4 separate regions of the Homo sapiens genome follow, and all the other regions are linked to region 1. The links are contacts of gene promoters, found by promoter capture Hi-C in blood cells and fetal thymus (Javierre and others, 2016). All regions are on one chromosome and are shown on one strand. Each heading gives the region's core, a stretch centred on a gene start or on the middle of the fragment in contact. The rest is flanking DNA. Distances are from core to core; before and after follow the strand shown.

Region 1 (4,022 bases), core at 100-2,599:
GCACTGCCGGGCCACAGGAGACATTACCAGAGCTGGTGACCCGTGCCGGGGCAGGATGAGCCTCGGGGCTTCCTCAGGAGCCACAGGCTGTGGTCAGAGGCGTTCTGGCCCCCTAGCCAGGAAGAGGCTGCCAGGCTGAGCAAGGGCACAAAGCTTCCAGCACAGGGGACAGTGGACAATAGCAAGGACTAGGGAGGATTAGAATGGCGGTTTCCTGCTGAAGAGAGGGGTTCCCTGGGGTGGCCCCTGACAGTAATCCCCAGGGACCTAAAAGTCCATGCTTACCCAAGCAGGCTGCCCACGGCCGCCATTCCTCCTTACAGCCCCAGTGGCACGTGGAGGTGGTCAGTACAGGCCCTGGCGTGCAACCTGCTAGGCAGAGAATGAAGAGATCTTTTTTAAAAGGAAGGTTCTTCCACCTAATGGTTTCTTATCAAATCCCAGCCCAGGATGCTTCCAAGACACATGTAATCACCACGCCACTCACCAACCTCTCCCAGCAACCCTTGGACTTCTCAGAACCGCCTGTAGAGGTTTTTCCAAAAGCAGAAGTTGGTCACTACTCCCAAAGATTCTGAGTCAGCCTGCGGCAGGGCCCAGGCTGTCTGTTCTGGCCGTTACCGAGTCTGCGAAACCTCTCTGAATGGACTGCAGCCTCAAAAGTGGAGCTGAGGTCATGCCTTGCTTTCTAAGGTCATTGCTAGTTTTAATAAAAACTCAGTGAAGTGAGGATTGTCATGCTTGCTTAAAGGAGAATGGAGGCCCAGGGCTGCTTTGCTGTGACCTGGATTCCCATGGGAGTCTGTGCTGAGGTGTGCGAAGTAAAAGCCCAGTTTTCAATACTCAGATTCCAGGAGATGAGGCTGCACAGAGGCCGAGCGCCCAGCTTCCTCTGGCGTACCCCTGTCTCTCACCAAGGAAGGGACCTGAAGACAGGTCCGGCTGCCTCTAAAATGGAAATCCTGCTACGTGTCCTATGCCCACATCCCTCTCCCTCGGCCTCACCAGCACAGGAGCCTGGGGCTGGTCCAGGAGGGTCTTCGGGGAAAGCTCCCTCTCCTTTCCTGCTAGACTGCATGGGGACAAGGGCTTATCACAGGTGCAGCCCCCTGTCCCCTTCCCTGCCTCCCTCCCTCCCGACTCCACCGGGAGGGTACAGCGCCTCCCGCCTCTGTTCCCGGCCCACACGAGGCGCCAACCTGCGGCCGCCACAGTCGCTGCGGAGGGGTCTGAGGACAGGCGGTCCTGACTCCCGCTGCCCGGTGGAACTAAGACCAGGGACGAGGCCACGCAGGAGATCAAGGTACTCACTGCGTTGGGTGCTGCTGCGCTGCAGCCCACGACGTCACTGGCAGGCGCTGCGTCGCGCGGTATGACGTGTTCCATGGCAGGGAGAGGCAAGAGTGGGCGGTGAGACACGAAGATATACGCCCCTGTTGGGCGGGGCCGGCGCGGCGTGATGTAATCTCGGGGGCGGGACGAAGCCTAGGTGGGCGGGGCCTGCGGGGGCGCTGTGGCGGTACAAGAACCCAGGCGGGGCCGGCGAGCAGGTGACCTCCGTCCCTACCGGGAGGACCAGGGCGGGCCGGCGAGGTCGAGGGGGACCCGCGGGTCTGAGGGAGGACGGAGTGGGGGAGTGCTGAGGGAGGACCCGGGGTGGGGAGCTGAGGGAGGATCCGCAGGGCTGAGGGAGGATCCAGGAGAGCTGATAGAGGTCCCGGAGGGCTGAGGGAGGACCCAGGGGTCCTGAGGGAGGACGCAGGGGGCTGAGGGAAGACGCAGGGGGGCTGAGGGAGGATCCTCGGAGCTGAAGGGGCATCAGCTGGGCTGAGGGAGGACCCAGGGGGACTGCGGGAGCACCCGGGCGGGGGCTGAGGGAAGGAGGATCCGCGGGGCTGAGTGGGCACCAGCTGGGCTGAGGGAGGATCCAGGGGGAGCTGCGGAAGGATCTGCGGGGCTGAGAGAGGATCTAGAAGGGGTGAGAGAGGTCCCAGGAGGCTAAGGGGGGAATCTGCAGAACTGAGGGAGGTCCCAGGGGGCAGTGAGGGAGGATCCATGGGCGCTGAGGTGGGAATCTAGGGAGGCTGAGGGAGGATCTGTGGGGATGACGGAAGTTCAAGGGGGGCTGAAGAGGCACGCAGCGGGCTGAGGAGGACCTGAGAGGCTGAAGGAGGATCCGAAAGGCTGATACAGCGGGGCTGAGGGGGGATCCGCGGGGTTGGCGGGGGCTGAGAAATGACCCTGTAGTTCACAGCAAAATGGAGTAATTTATGTCACAACGTAACCAAAATGGAGTGGGGAGGGCCCTAAGGAAGCAGCTGTCACGCATTTCTGAAATGCCAGAGAGGCTCGCTATTACCTTGTAAACAGAGCTTATTCCGGGCATTTCCACTGGCCTGCAGTATTCCAGATGAGATGTTTGGACCAGGGCAGGCAGATAGCATCGCCTATCTGCCTCAGCGAACCAGGGTCACTTTGTGCAATGAGTTCATGAGACCAGGGCCTTTGTTTTGTGAAAGTTACAAATAAGGAGTGAAATCACTTTGTCAGGCCCAGACAAACAGGGCTGGGAAGAACAGGAGGCTCAGGCTTAGTGTCTGAGATAAGAATTATTCGCAAGGACTTTCTAAAAACCCCACAAGAAACCCTTTTGTGTCATTCACGGGTCTCCTACTTTGACAAAATTTAGACCATCTTTAGGACTGCAGTAATTCAGTTAAGATGCTCGGAATAAACACTTGCCCAGTAATGGCAGCGCCACCAATGAACTGAGGACAACTTTGAGCTTTGGCGTTGGGCCCCTGGAACCAATGAACTCTTTCTAAGCAGCTTCTGTGAACCGCTCCCTTTTCGCTGATAAAAGTTCCCTTTTCACTGATAAAAAGTTCCCTTTACCCTTCCCTCACTGGGAATGCTGGTGGCTTGCTGCTGTTGATGAAAAGAGTCAAACTTTGTAAAATATTTTAAGAGATATATTCTGAGCCAAATATGAGTAACCATGGCCTGTGACACAGCCCTCAGGACAGAGGTCCTGAGAACATGTTCCCAAGGTGGTTGGGGTGCAGCTTGGTTTTATACATTTTAGGGAGGCATGAGACATCAATCAAATACATTTAAAACCTACATTGGTTTGGTTCAGAAAGGCAGGACAACTCGAAGCAGGGGTCAAGGGTGCTGGCTTCCAGCTTATAGGTAGATTGAAAAATTTTCTGTTTGACAATTGGTTGAATTTACCTGAAGACCTGGGATTAACAGAAAGGAATGTCTGGGTTAAGATAAAAGATTGTGGGTGGGGTGCAGTGGCTCACACCTGTAATCCCAGCACTTTGGGAGGCTAAGGCAGGCGGATCACGAGGTCAGGAGTTCGAGACCAGCCTGACCAACATGGTGAAACCTCCTCTCTACTAAAAATACAAAAATTAGCTGGGCGTGGTGGTGTGTGCCTGTAATCCCAGTTACTCAGGAGGCTGAGGCAGAAGAATCACTTCAGCCCAGGAGGCGGAGGTTGAAGTGAGCCGAGATTGCGCCACTGCACTCCAGCTTAGGCAATAGAGTGAGACTCCATCTAAAAAAAAAAAAAAAGGAAAGAAAAAAAAATATATATATATATGATTGTGGAGACCAAAGTTCTTATTTGCAGATGAAGCCTTCAGGTATTAGGCTTCAGAGAGAATAGGTTGTAAAATGTTTATCGGACTTAAAGTCTATGTTGATGTTAATGCCAGAGAGGTATAATGAGGCATGTCTGACCCCCACTTCTTATGGCCTGAACCAGTCTTTGAGGTTAAATTTTAAGAGTTCCAGGCCAGGCACAGTGGCTGACACCTGTAATCCCAACACTTTGGGAGGCAGAGGTGGGCGAATCACTTCAGGTCAGGAGTTCGAGACCAGCCTGGCCAACATGGTGAAACCCGGTCTCCACTAAAAAATATACAAAAATTAGCCAGGCATGGTGGTGCGCACCTGTAATCCCAGCTACTCAGGAGGCTGAGGCAGGAGAATCACTTGAACCTGGGAGGCAG
Region 2 (4,022 bases), core at 738-3,237, 400 kb after region 1:
CAACAGGCACACACCACCATGCCTGGCTAATTTCTTTATTTTTATTTTTTTGTAGAGATGGGGTCTTGCTATATTGCCCAGGGTGTCCTCAAACTCCTGGCCTCAAGCAATTTTCCCGCCTCAGCCTCCCAAAATGCTGGATGACAGCTGCAAGCCACCACAAGCAACTCTGTCATAATGCAGTCTTTATAACCAGCTGAGCACAATCTCTACTCTCAAAATAGGGCTCTGAAGTCTAGGAACAAGTCCTCAGCTCCTGAAATGACAGAGGAGGAAGTGAGTGAAGTGAATGAATGAAGGACACAGTCAATATTGAGAATAATCACAGTGATTGCAACTGTAAACCCTCCCTGACGCGGCCTTGCTCTGAATGCTACTCTGTTGGTCTTTCAGGATGGTATCAGCACTCCCAGCAGACAGAGTGGCTCAGGGCTCACACCAGGTCCCTCAGCCCACACCCATCAGACTTGGGGTTCAAACTCAGATCTGTCTGTTTTCAAGACAGAGCCCAACCAGCCTGCCTGAAATCAGCCAGTGAAGACTTAATTGAGGGATTGCTAGGAGACAGATGGTCTCACTGGGTAGATCATAATCAGGCAATGCCAGAGGGAGGATCCCCACTGGCCACCCCATTCCTACTGTGTCTGAGGACACATGGACGAAGCCTCAGCTCAGGGCTTCGTGTTAGGGTCCTGGATTTGGGGTGGGGGGGCAGGATGTGCCTTGTCGGGGCTCCCTGCTCACCACGCCATGGCTCAGCCTTGTCGCTGCTGGTGGGCCGCCTCTGCTCCTTTTCTCTTCACTCCCTCTCTTCTTCCAGTGATGCTTTGTTCTTTTCCCTTTGACGTTTCCAGAAGATGCAGATGCCTCCAGCTATTACGAGTCCCATGGCAACAAGGATCAGAGGCAGAGCTGCTTTCCATGCCGTGAACTGGGAGCTTCTGGAGAAGGTAGCTGGAGAAGATTCCCAGAAGCCAGGAATATTGGGGTAAGAGAGTTTCTGTGTTCTGAGGTCAAACTTGCTAAAGAGTTCAGTAGTCCAGGGACATAATATTTGCAAATTACTGTGAAATAGTTTCCAAAATAGTATGTATTTGCACAGCTGGTCTATGGACCGAATGTCTGTGTCCCCCAAAGGGGTTGAAATCCCAACCCCTACGGTGATGATGTTAGGAGGTGAGGCCTTTGGGAAGTGATGAGGTCATGAGGGTGGAGCCCCTGTAACGGATATGATGGGAATGGTGCCCTTATAAAGGGGAGAGCCCAGAGAGCTCCCTCACCCCTTCCACCATGTGAGGACACAGTGAGAAGGCGCTGTCTATGAACCAGGAAGTGCCCTTGCCAGACACCAAATCTGCCACGCCTTGATCTTGGACTTCCCAGCTTACAAAACTGTGGGCAATAGCTATCTCTTGTTTCTAAGCCACCTGGTCTGTGGTATTTTGTTATAGGCACACAAATGGAGTAAGACAGTTGGGTTTAGACATATGCATAGGAAGTAGATATTAGATATCTATTTGTAGATAGACAAAGGGAGAAGTGATAAAAAGAAATATCGCAATAAGGTAAAAATATGGTGAATCTGAGTAAAGGGTGCACAGACAACTTTTCTATTAATCTTGCAAAGTTTCTGTAAGTTTGACATCATTTAGAAAAGTAAAAGTGAAAGTTTTTGTGAAAAGCTAAATTTGGAAACAACCAAGATATTTTTTAGTAGGTGAATGGATCAATAAACAGTGGTCCATCCAGATCCTGGAACGTTATTCATTTCACAAAAGAAACAAGTTATCAAGGCAGGAAAAGACATGGAGGAAACCTAAATGCGTACCACAAAGTGAGGGAAGTCAAAGTGAAGGGGCTACAGAGGCACCGTCCCAACTACAGGACATTCCAGAACACCTGGAAACTATGGAGACAGTGAAAACATCAGTGGTGGCCAGGAGTTAGGGGAGATGAATGAATGAGCGGAGCACGGAGGATTAAGGGCAGTGACATTATTTTGTATGATACTATGACAGATATGTGGCATTATATATTTATCTAGAACCATGGGACACCATGCCAAGAGTGAGCCCTCATGAAAACTGCACTCTGGGTGCTGACGGCATTGTCAACGGAAGTTCATCAAACATGGTGGACGTTCCTTCTGGTGTAGGGTTTTTATGCTGGGGGAAGGTGTGTGAGGGGGTTAGGGGAAGATGGGAACTCTCTGGACTTTCTACTAAAATTTGTTGTGACCCTAAAACTGCTTTAAAAAATAAAGCCTATTTTAAAAAACCCTAAAAACTGTTGATATTAGGATGTACATTTCTTGTTCCCCCAAAGGCAAGGCTCTCCCCAGGGTCCCTGCACCCTTATCTCTGTTCCTCTTCAGTAATCAGCACCCAAACAGTGCACCTCCTGGGATGCCCCAGCCATGTGAGGACAGGGACCTGCCACCCATCCCTGCTTGCCACAAACCCCACAGCTGTCTCTTAATGTCCCCAGTGTCCAGGGCCACGGAATCCTGTGCTCAGTGATTGTGAGGACAGAACTGAATAGAGGACTCACCGGGCAGGTGGCTCTCAGCCACCTTCCTCCTTTCAGGGAGGAGGGGGCTGGAGATGGAGCAGGAGAGACCCTCCACAGCCCTGTCCCAGAGCGTCAAGCTGGATGCCACAGCCCAGAGCCTGGTGGTGGCTGAGGCTGATAGATTGGTCACAGCAGGCCTAGCCTGGCCCCTGAAGTCTCTCCGTTCCACCCAGGACTTGGGGAAACAGCCTGCTGATGTGCACTCCGCCCTGACTCCATCCTGCTGGTCTGTCACCTGGATTCTGGGCTCTCTGCCCAGCCCTGAAGGAAGAGACAGCAGCTTGAATCTTTGCAGCCATGGCTGCTTCTATTTAAAGGAAAAACAAAATCTTGAGGATTTCCAATGTATTTTGGCAATTTCACAAACTGCCTACCCTGTGTTACACACCATCCCTAACAGAGTTCCCCATTTCCCAGACAAAAGAAGGGAAGCAAAGTGGAAAAGGTCCAGGAAGATTGAATAGGCATCCTGTGTTGCAGAAGTAGAATTCATGGCACAAGATGGGACCCAGGCTTGTCTGTTTCGAAGCACAAGTTCTGAGTCACTCGGGAAACCTCCCGTATCTGAAGACTCTCTTCTCTCTCTTGGCCTTTCTGTCTCCTGTCATTATTTCTCTGTCTCTCTCTTCCTCCCACTCTCTGTTGCTTACTGTCTTTCTCATTTTCTTTTACTGTCTCTCTGTCTCTGTCTCTATCTCCCTCTCTCTGTCACTGACTCTGTCTCTTTGTCTCTTTCATTCTCTCTGTGTTTCTCTCAGTTTCTCATTCTCTCTGTCTCTCTCCATCTCTGTCTCTCCTGTCTTTCATTCTCTGTCTCTGCCTGTCCCTCCCTCTCCATCTCTCTCTTTCCCCATCTCTATAATTCTGTCATTCTTTCTTCATCTCTCTCTGTCTTTCTCTCATCTCTCTGTCTTTCTCTCCATCTCTCTTTCCACCTCTGTCTGTCTCTCCCTGCTTCTTTCTCATTCTATCTCTTCTTCTCTGTGTCTCTCTCATTCCCCCCATCTCTCTCTTTCCCTTCCCTTCACTTTCCAGTCCACTGGTGTAAGGAGGGAAAGGAAGATGAGGAAGGTGGCTCTGCCTTCACCGCTGTGCTTCCCGGGAGCAGTGCAGGCCAGCACGGCAGCTGGGAGAGTGCACTCTCACCCTACTGAAAAGCCCTCCACCTGAACACGCTGGGCCCCAAGGCCATGCCTGGAAGTAGACTGACAGCCAGCTAGCCACCAGCCTTACCTGCCACCTGCACCTGCACAGTGGCCTCGCCGAACTTTACACCATCCTTGAAGCGGCAGCAGTATGTCCTGTTGTCAAAGGTGGTGACCCTGTGACTCCTCACCATGGCCTTGCCCCTGGCCACGTGGTCACTCATGAAGGTGGTCCTTCCTCTGTACTGCCACTTTTGCTCTCCATCCATGTCCATCCCTCTCTCATGCATGTGCACAGCTAGGGAG
Region 3 (4,022 bases), core at 795-3,294, 380 kb after region 1:
TTTTTCTCATGTGTGTTCAATCATTTGTGTGCTTTTTTTTTTGTGATTTGAAAAATCCCATGACAAGGTGTATTTTCCATCATGCTTTTCCTTACCTAATTTTATAAACTCTTTGTATATTTGTGGTTACAATGTTCCTAATTTGGCTATTTGCCTTTAATTATAATTTTTGATATTTTCTCATTCACAAGATTAGTTCATTATGAAGTTTGCTCATTTTTTATATTTTTTACTTTTCTCTCCAGCAAGTTCCTAGTTGACTCAACAATATCAGCAAGGCTCGGCTGGAAGCCTCTAATCTTTACTACACAGAAATAACCTCGGTTTACTATTCATGTTTCCCACGGGCATCTAGTGCATTTCCAAGTCGATTTAAAAAATCTTCACAAAGACAAAAATACCTCATTAGATCCTGCGCTTGCTTGGAATACAGATTTATAAAAATTTTTTTTTGTTTTTGTTTTTTAAGACAGAGTCTCGCTCTGTCGCCAGGCTAGAGTGCAGTGGCACGATCTTGGCTCACCGCAACCTCCGACTCCCTGGTTCAAGTGATTCTCCTGCCTCAGCCTCCTGAGTAGCTGGGATTACAGGCATGCGCCACCACGCCCGGCTAATTTGTGTATTTTTAGTAGAGACGGGGTTTCACCATGAGCCAGGATGGTCTCATATCTTGACCTTGTGATCCGCTCGCCTCGGCCTCGCAAAGTGCTGGGATTAGAGACGTGAGCCACGGCGCCCGGCCCAGATTAATTTTTTAAAATGCAAAACTTGCACAATCTTATTTTAACCATGCTTGCTTGTTTTCAAAATAATTAAAAAACAAAAACACAAGATTGCTCTTCCCAAAGGCTTATTTCTTTCCTTTAAATTTATTTTTTAAAGAAAAGCTAACGGCCGGGTGTAGTGGCTCACGCCTGTAATCCCAGCACTTTGGGAGGCAGAGGCGGGTGGATTACGAGGTCAGGAGTTCGAGGCCAGCCTGGCCAACATGGTGAAACCCCGTCTGTACTAAAAATACAAAAATTAGCCGGGCGTCGTGGCAGGCGCCTGCAATACCGGCTACTCGGGGGGCTGAGGCAGGAGAATCGCTTGAACCCGGGACGCGGAGGTTGCAGTGAGCCGAGATCGCGCCACTGCACTCAAGCCTGCCTGGCAACAGAGCGAGGCTGTCTCAAAAAAGAAAGAAAAGCAAAGCAAAGCTAACAAATGCTCTTCTGTCATGCATCATCACAGAATCAATGAGAGCTCCCCCCAGCCAGGAGACAGCGGACAACCAGGGTAGCTTCCCAGGGGGCCAGAGGGAGGCTGCGCGAGAAGAGGCTCAGCGGGATGGGTCCACGCAGGGAGATCCCACGCAGGGTGGGCGTATACGAGTGTCCACGTCCGGAGGGCCGTTCAAGGGCGGGTCCCTGAAGGAAGGGTGCACGCAGGGCACGTCCACGCGGGCAGGCCCGTGCACGCAGGGCGTGCCCATGCAGGGCGGGTCCGTGCAGGATGAGAGCAGCGGAGGAGGCCCACGCAGGCCATTTCCCGCCCCGTCCCCAGCCCACGCGGGCGAGCTACCGCGGGGGTACGCGCAGCTCAGATCCTAGCAGCTTACAAAAACAACCTTTTAAAAATGGAACCTTCAAGTAAAAATAAAACTTTGTTTCCCTCTTTCGCAGGAGTTACTGAAGTAGGAAGGGACAGCCCAGTAAGATTTCAGGATACGACTTGGGCCGGTCCGCAGGCAGTAGAGTGAAGCGCGCAGCTGCCAGGACTTGCGCGGTGACGTGCGCCGCTGCCAGGACCTTGCAGGTGGAGAGCATAGTTGCCAAAATCAAGGCGGAGGAGCGCACCGCCGCTAGGATCCAGGCGGAGAAGCCCACCGCGGCCAGGACCTAAGGATGCAGTACACTGCTGCCAGGATCTTGTCTGTGGAGCGCAGCGCGGCCAGGACCTCCGGCTGCAGCACACCGCTGCCAGGATCTTATCGGCAGAGCGCTCCGCGGTCCGGACCCCGCCCCGTGCGCGTCCCCGACCCCGCCCCGTGCGCGTCCCCGGCGTTGGCGTCTTCGTCCTGTTGCTGGTCTCCGTCCGGTCGCCGGCCGTCTAGGTCTCCGGCCCTCCCCAGCCGCTCCTGCGCCCTTGCCGGCCCCGCCGCCCGCAGCCCTGGCGCTCCCTGCGGGCCCCGCCGAGGCCGCCTGCGCCCTGTGCCAGCGCGCGCCCCGGGAACCGGTGCGCGCCGACTGCGGCCACCGCTTCTGTCGGGCGTGCGTGGTGCGCTTCTGGGCCGAGGAGGACGGGCCCTTCCCGTGCCCCGAGTGCGCCGACGACTGCTGGCAGCGCGCCGTGGAGCCCGGCAGGCCCCCGCTCAGCCGCCGCCTTCTGGCGCTCGAGGAGGCGGCCGCGGCGCCCGCGCGCGACGGCCCGGCCAGCGAGGCCGCGCTGCAGCTGCTGTGCCGCGCCGACGCCGGCCCGCTCTGCGCCGCCTGCCGTATGGCTGCGGGCCCCGAGCCGCCCGAGTGGGAACCGCGCTGGAGGAAGGCGCTGCGCGGCAAGGTGCGCGCCGCGGGGTCCCGTGCCCCACCCCGGACGGTGCCCTGCGCCTCTCCGCCCCCGCCCCGGTCCCCCTGAGCCCTGGGCCCTTCCCGTCTCCACTGTTCCTGTCCCCGGATTGTCCCCGTCCCCGGATTGTCCCCCTCCCCTCACCGCCACGGGTCCCCTCTCCAGCGTGTGCTGGGCCCCTCCCTCCTGCGGCTTGCCTCCCCATATTTCCTGCGTCTCTTCGGAGTCTGGTCCCCTTCCCCGTCTTGGTGTCCCCTGCTGGGCGGTGCCTTATCTCCCCACCCCCTACCTTCTACGAAGTCCTTCCCCCACCAGCGCCCATCTTTGTGGTCCCATCACTAGCTGTGCCCTGTCTCGCCCTCATAGACCCCCTCTAGTTCCTACAGATTGACTCCTCCACTCACTCTTCCCTTGGGGGAGACATCACGCCTCTTGCCCCTCTGTATTCCACTGTGTCCACAGGCCTGGCCCACCTTCTCGTCTGCTCCCCGGGCCACCCAGCCCTCGCCTGCACCCCCTGTCCCCTCTCCCATCTTTCAGAAACCCGCTCTGAGAGTCTGGCAGCAGCGGGTCCGGGAGTCTGGAGCCTTGCCCATGGCGGGTTGGTTGTGGGACACAGAATAGGAGACAACAGCCAGCCTGGGGTCCTGCTCTTCAATACAGGGGAGGGGAAGCCAGCCAGACTGTGTCCCTGGGTGCTCCTCCTGCATTGGGGGTCCTGCCACCGGGCAGAGCGACCCCCATCCGGCTCAGGCAGGGCAGGGTGTAGGGCAGGCTGTGCAGACCTTTGGTACAGGCCGAACTCACACTGAACAGGGCCACTTACAGACACAGAACTCCTAAACCCACCTAGACAGTCCCCTTAGCCCCAGCACCCAGATCCTTCTGAATAGGTGTGAAGCCCAAGAAACCTTTTGACTGCCTGTGCGTTCCTGCCCTAGACAACCGGGCTTCGAGGTTATCTCTGGGATGGTCAGACTGTGTGCAGTCAGCTGGGGTGATGTCCCTCAGTACTGGGCTGGGTTGGGGGACCCAGAGCTTCTGCCCACCCCTGGTGACCTTCTTTTCTTTACAGGAGAACAAGGGGTCTGTGGAAATCATGAGAAAGGACTTGAATGACGCCCGGGACCTGCATGGCCAGGCAGAGTCAGCAGCTGCAGTGTGGAAGGCAAGTGGGGGGACCTGGGGCAGCCTGGAATGAGGGGACTGTGGGCTCAGGGCTCTAGACAAAGGGACCACCAGGCCAAGTGGGCCAGGCCTCTGAACTGCTCAGCTGGTTGGTTGGAGGAGGGGCCTCTGGACTTAAGTGAGCTTCAGGGTATTTTTTTTAGGATGTGTTTGTATTTCTCAAATAGAATCTAGCCAAAGCCAGTGGAAGCCTCTTTTTCTCCTCACATTTTACCTGTAGGTGATGGCAGCATCAGACTTCTTTTTTTTTTCCCAAGAGACAGAGTCTCACTTCATTACCCAGGCTG
Region 4 (4,022 bases), core at 1,130-3,629, 330 kb after region 1:
GGCAGGTTCTGCCCGAGTCAGGTCTGAGATGACTCCAGCCCTGGACAGCGCTGATGGTAGCCTTCTGACAGGCCCCAACTAGGCAGCACTGCGATTCCCGACTGCCACACAGACACTGTGGGACAATATGCATATGTTGTCTGGAGCTGCTAAGTTTTGAGGATAATTTCTTAGGCAAATATCACCTCCCTTCCGGACCAGGTCAGCCATATGTTGGATCTCTATTTGGTTAAAACCGCGAGTCACTTTGTAAGTATCAAAATCTGCCTTATGTAGCCTTTGGCCCCTAAATCAAGCTGTTAAGCAATGAGAACCTGAAACTTCAAGGAGTTTTATAGCCAGTGAATAGAAGAAAGTTCCTTTTAGGATAGTTGGGATAATAAAATAATGTCAGCTTTTTATTGTAGACTTCTAAATATCTCTAGTGTACTAAATCAGGGACTTGGATTCCCACATTAGCCAGGATTTAGGGGTGAACTGCCAACAAACAACCCCACAACCGCAAATTGGCCTTTCCTGCCTGTGGGTCTGTGAGTGGCTACAGGGCCCCCAAATGAAAGGGGGGTGCTCAGGTGCAATTAGTGCACCTCTCATTTGGGGATTCTTAGTTTAAGAGTGAGGGAATGCTATTCATCCCATTGAAAGAGGTGGGGAGTCAGCATTAGCTGGACCATATTAAATCTAAAACAGCCCAAATCCTTGTCATAATAATTCATTATTCTTCATTCCACACTCAACGTACATTGCTCTTGAAAGATAGGAGAATATCCTCCCCAAAGGATACCACCCCCTCCCCAAAGGATGCCACACCCTCCCCAAAGGATGCCACCCCTCCACAAAACAATGCCACACCCTCTCCAAAGGATGCCACCCCTCCCCAAAGGATGCCATACCCTCCCCCAAACGATGCCACACCCTCTCCAAAGGATGCCATACCCTCTTCAAAGGATGCCACCCCTCTTCAAATGACACCACTCCCTCCCCAGATGATGCCACACCCTCTCTGAAGGGTGCCACCACCTCTCCAAAGGATACCACACCCTCTCCAAAGGATGCCACCCCCTCTCCAAAGGATGCCACACCCTCCCCAAAGGATGCCACACCCTCCCCAAAGGATGCCACTCCTCTCCAAAGGATGCCACACCCTCCCCAAAGGATGCCACCCCTCCCCAAAGGGTGCCGTGCCCTCCCCAAAGGTTGCCACCTCTCTCCAAAGGATGCCACACACTTTCCAAAGGATGTCATACCCTCTCCAAAGGATGCCAGCCCTTCCCAAATGATGCCACCCCTCCCCCAAAGATGCCACACCCTCTTCAAAGGGTGCCACCCCTCCCCAAACAATGCCACCCCCTCCCCAAAGGATGCCAACTCTCCCCAAACAATGCCACCTCTCCTCAAAAATGCCACACCTTCTCCAAAGGATGCCACCCTTCCTCAAACGATGCTATCCCCTCCCCAAAGGATGCCAGCCCTCCTCAAACGATGCTACCCCCCTCCAAAGGATGCCACCCCTCCCCAAATGATGCCACCCAAAGGATGCCCCCTCCTCTCCAAAGGGTGCCATTCCCTCCCCAAATGATGCCACCGACTCTCCAAAGGATGGCACCTCCTCTGTAGAGTGTGCTATCCCCTCCCGAAAGGATGCCACCCCCTCCAAAGGATGCCACCCCTTCCAAAATGATGCCACACCCTCTCCAAAGGATGCCACCCCCTCCTTAAACAATGCCACCCCTCCCCAAAGGATACCACCCTCTCTCCAAAGGAAGCCACCCATCTCTAAAAGGTGCCACCCCCTCCTCAAGGGATGCCACCTCTTCCCCAAAGGATGCCACTTTGGCACAAGGATTATTTGGAGCTGAAGGCCAATAATAATCCATTGTTGAGAAACAACGGATGTAAAAAAGCTTTCTGCTTGCCCCTATTTTCCTAAAAGCAGGACAAAATGGACAAAGTTGTCTTTGCCTCTCCACCAGGAAGGAATCAATTTAATCATGTGAGATGATTTTAGATGCTTATCAGCCAGGAGACAGCACCAGTGAAATCTACATGCCAGGCCTTAACTCGCCGGCCCTCTCCACCACTGCTTCTCATAACTCCCCTCCTCCACATCTTTCACTGTTCGCCTTAGCTGAAGGCACTACACAGGCCGGAGTTCTCTAGCTGAACTAAGGAAAAGTCCTGCAGCAACAGTATTTGTTAGAATGTTGGGGTGCTCAGGCCTCCAAAACAGAACCTATCTCTCCGACCTTCTCCCACCCTCCTTTTACCTACTCGTTTTGCTCCCCAGGCAGGCCACAGAAATGAAAACTGTAGTCTTTCCCCACCTTTCTGTCTCGGACCTGGCCATAAGGACATTTTCTGACTTCCCTTTTCTGATTGTGGGTCATAAGACTCCCAGTTCAGAGAGGGTCCTGCCCCATACCCAGGAGGAAGGATGCTGCCCAGAGAGGCCAAGAAGAGTCTGAACACATGGGCTCTGCTGGGGTTCCCCGCTCAGTCTGTTGGGGTTACATCCACACTTTCTGTCCGGTCACATTTCTACATGGCTGTCTTCTATCATGTCCATCCAATGAAGTCTCCATAAAAGGCCCAAGGGGACAGGTTTTGGGGGCTTCTGGAGGGCTGAACTCGTGGGGGCTTGCAGGAAGGGTGAGGGAGAATTCATTTGCAGGCTGGGAGGGTGGCGCAGCCCAACTCCGCTGGGTCAGAAGGCCCTGCGCTTGGACCTTTGCAGAACTCTCCCTCTGCATTCCTTCATCTGGCTATTTATTTGTAGCCTTAAACTATTCTTTAAATAAACAGGTAAATGTAAGTAAGTGTTTCTCTAGTTTTATGAGCTGCTCTAACAAATTAATCAAGCTTAAAGAGGGAGTCGAGGGAACTCCAAGTTACAGCTGGTCAGAAGTTCTGGAGGCTTGGACTTGCCCATGGTGTCTGAAGTAGAGGCAGCCTCGGGGACTGAGCCCTCAACCTATAGGATCTGATGCAATCTCCAGGTAGATACTGTCAGAATTTGTTTATTTATTTAGTTTTTTTATTGTTATGATTATTTGAGATGGGGTCTTGCTCTGTTGCCGAGGCTGGAATGCAGTGGTGAGACCCTAGCTCACTGCAGCCTGGAACTCCTGGGCTCAAGCAATCCTACTTCAGTCTCCTGAGCAGCTGGGACTACAGGCATGCACCATCGTGCTCAGCTACTTATTTCATTCTTGTAGAGACAGAGTCTTGCTATGTTGCCCAGACTGGTCTCCAGTTCCTGGGCTCAAGCAATTCCCTCCCACCTCTGCCTCCCAACGCTGGGATTACCAAGGCATGAGCCACTGTGCCTGGCTGAAGTCGGAATTAAATTGGGTTCAAGGACACCTAACTGGTGCCCACTAAAACATTGGTTGCTTGCTTGCTTGCTGATAGGGAGAAATCCTCACATGTTTGGTCACAGATGTCTTCTGTGTTCATTGTTGTGTTGTGAGATCAGAGGAAAAACAGTTGTTTTTTTTCTACATCAGAGGACACAAATATTCAGACCATAGCAGCTGTGGCAGGAATTTGCTGTTCTATTCCAGCCAACACCTGAAGACTGGTCCAGGCTCTTCCTTTCCTAGAGCATTTACTGAAACCAGCTCACAACTGGGAATGCTTCCTTTGGCGTGTTGAGATGTCCATGTGTCTCCTACAATCTAGCAGTGGCTCCTCGAGGAACCCAGAGCCATTCCTTTGAAACCAGGAGGGAGAAGGCCTTAGTCTCTGCCAGAAGGTAGAATCCTGACTTTGGGCCTGGCTGACTAGCAGACACAGATGGTCTCATCTGATTGGCACGGAGCCCCCGCTCACCCCATCTCCTTCCCTTTAAGACACCCCGCCACCCCTACACAAATTACAATGGAGGCGACTCTGTACTGACTGCAGCTGGCACTGAATGGAAATCTGTTTTCACTGCTTTAATGTCCAGCTTTATCTTTGCGTTAACTGAAAAAATCACAGGATCTATAAATTGGAAAAGCAGATTTCACTTCTTGTAGAGG

The links. Contacts are between HindIII fragments. The CHiCAGO score rates a contact against its expected background, and 5 or more counts as called.
Region 2: a fragment that was not itself captured here is called in contact with the fragment with the promoter of MRPL55 in region 1 in 3 of 17 cell types (naive B cells, total CD8 T cells and naive CD8 T cells); the score reaches 7.7 in naive B cells.
Region 3: a contact is called between the fragment with the promoter of RNF187 here and the fragment with the promoter of MRPL55 in region 1, in 2 of 17 cell types (erythroblasts and naive CD8 T cells). The highest score is 6.1, in erythroblasts.
Region 4: a fragment that was not itself captured here is called in contact with the fragment with the promoter of MRPL55 in region 1 in 6 of 17 cell types (naive B cells, total CD4 T cells, activated CD4 T cells and 3 more); the score reaches 9.3 in naive B cells.

What each region holds. Positions count from the first base shown.
Region 1 is chr1:228,107,950-228,111,971 of GRCh38, forward strand. MRPL55 (mitochondrial ribosomal protein L55) reads right to left here and starts at 1,350. Exons shown (of 5, transcript NM_181463.3): 1 at 1,200-1,350; 2 at 1,006-1,072; 3 at 286-369. The coding sequence starts at 311. RefSeq lists enhancers at 1-283, 284-997, 1,266-1,435 and a silencer at 1,706-1,795. The HindIII fragment of the contact is 15,311 bases long and covers 152-4,022 here.
Region 2 is chr1:228,507,847-228,511,868 of GRCh38, forward strand. LOC105373124 (a long non-coding RNA gene) reads left to right here and starts at 201. Exons shown (of 3, transcript XR_949233.3): 1 at 201-276; 2 at 855-988; 3 at 2,045-2,286. It also overlaps the pseudogene BTNL10P. RefSeq lists an enhancer at 3,292-3,793. The HindIII fragment of the contact is 4,514 bases long and covers 1-4,022 here.
Region 3 is chr1:228,485,338-228,489,359 of GRCh38, forward strand. RNF187 (ring finger protein 187) reads left to right here and starts at 2,045. Exons shown (of 4, transcript NM_001010858.3): 1 at 2,045-2,541; 2 at 3,623-3,715. The coding sequence starts at 2,152. RefSeq lists enhancers at 923-1,784, 1,104-1,483, 1,785-2,645, 2,763-3,491, 3,492-4,022 and silencers at 2,104-2,223, 2,484-2,683. The HindIII fragment of the contact is 25,988 bases long and covers 1-4,022 here.
Region 4 is chr1:228,437,494-228,441,515 of GRCh38, forward strand. All of the region lies in intron 1 of LOC124904538 (a long non-coding RNA gene), which reads right to left. Among named protein-coding and RNA genes, the nearest start is that of H3-4, 14 kb to the left of the region's middle. RefSeq lists a silencer at 2,896-3,180. The HindIII fragment of the contact is 955 bases long and covers 1,903-2,857 here.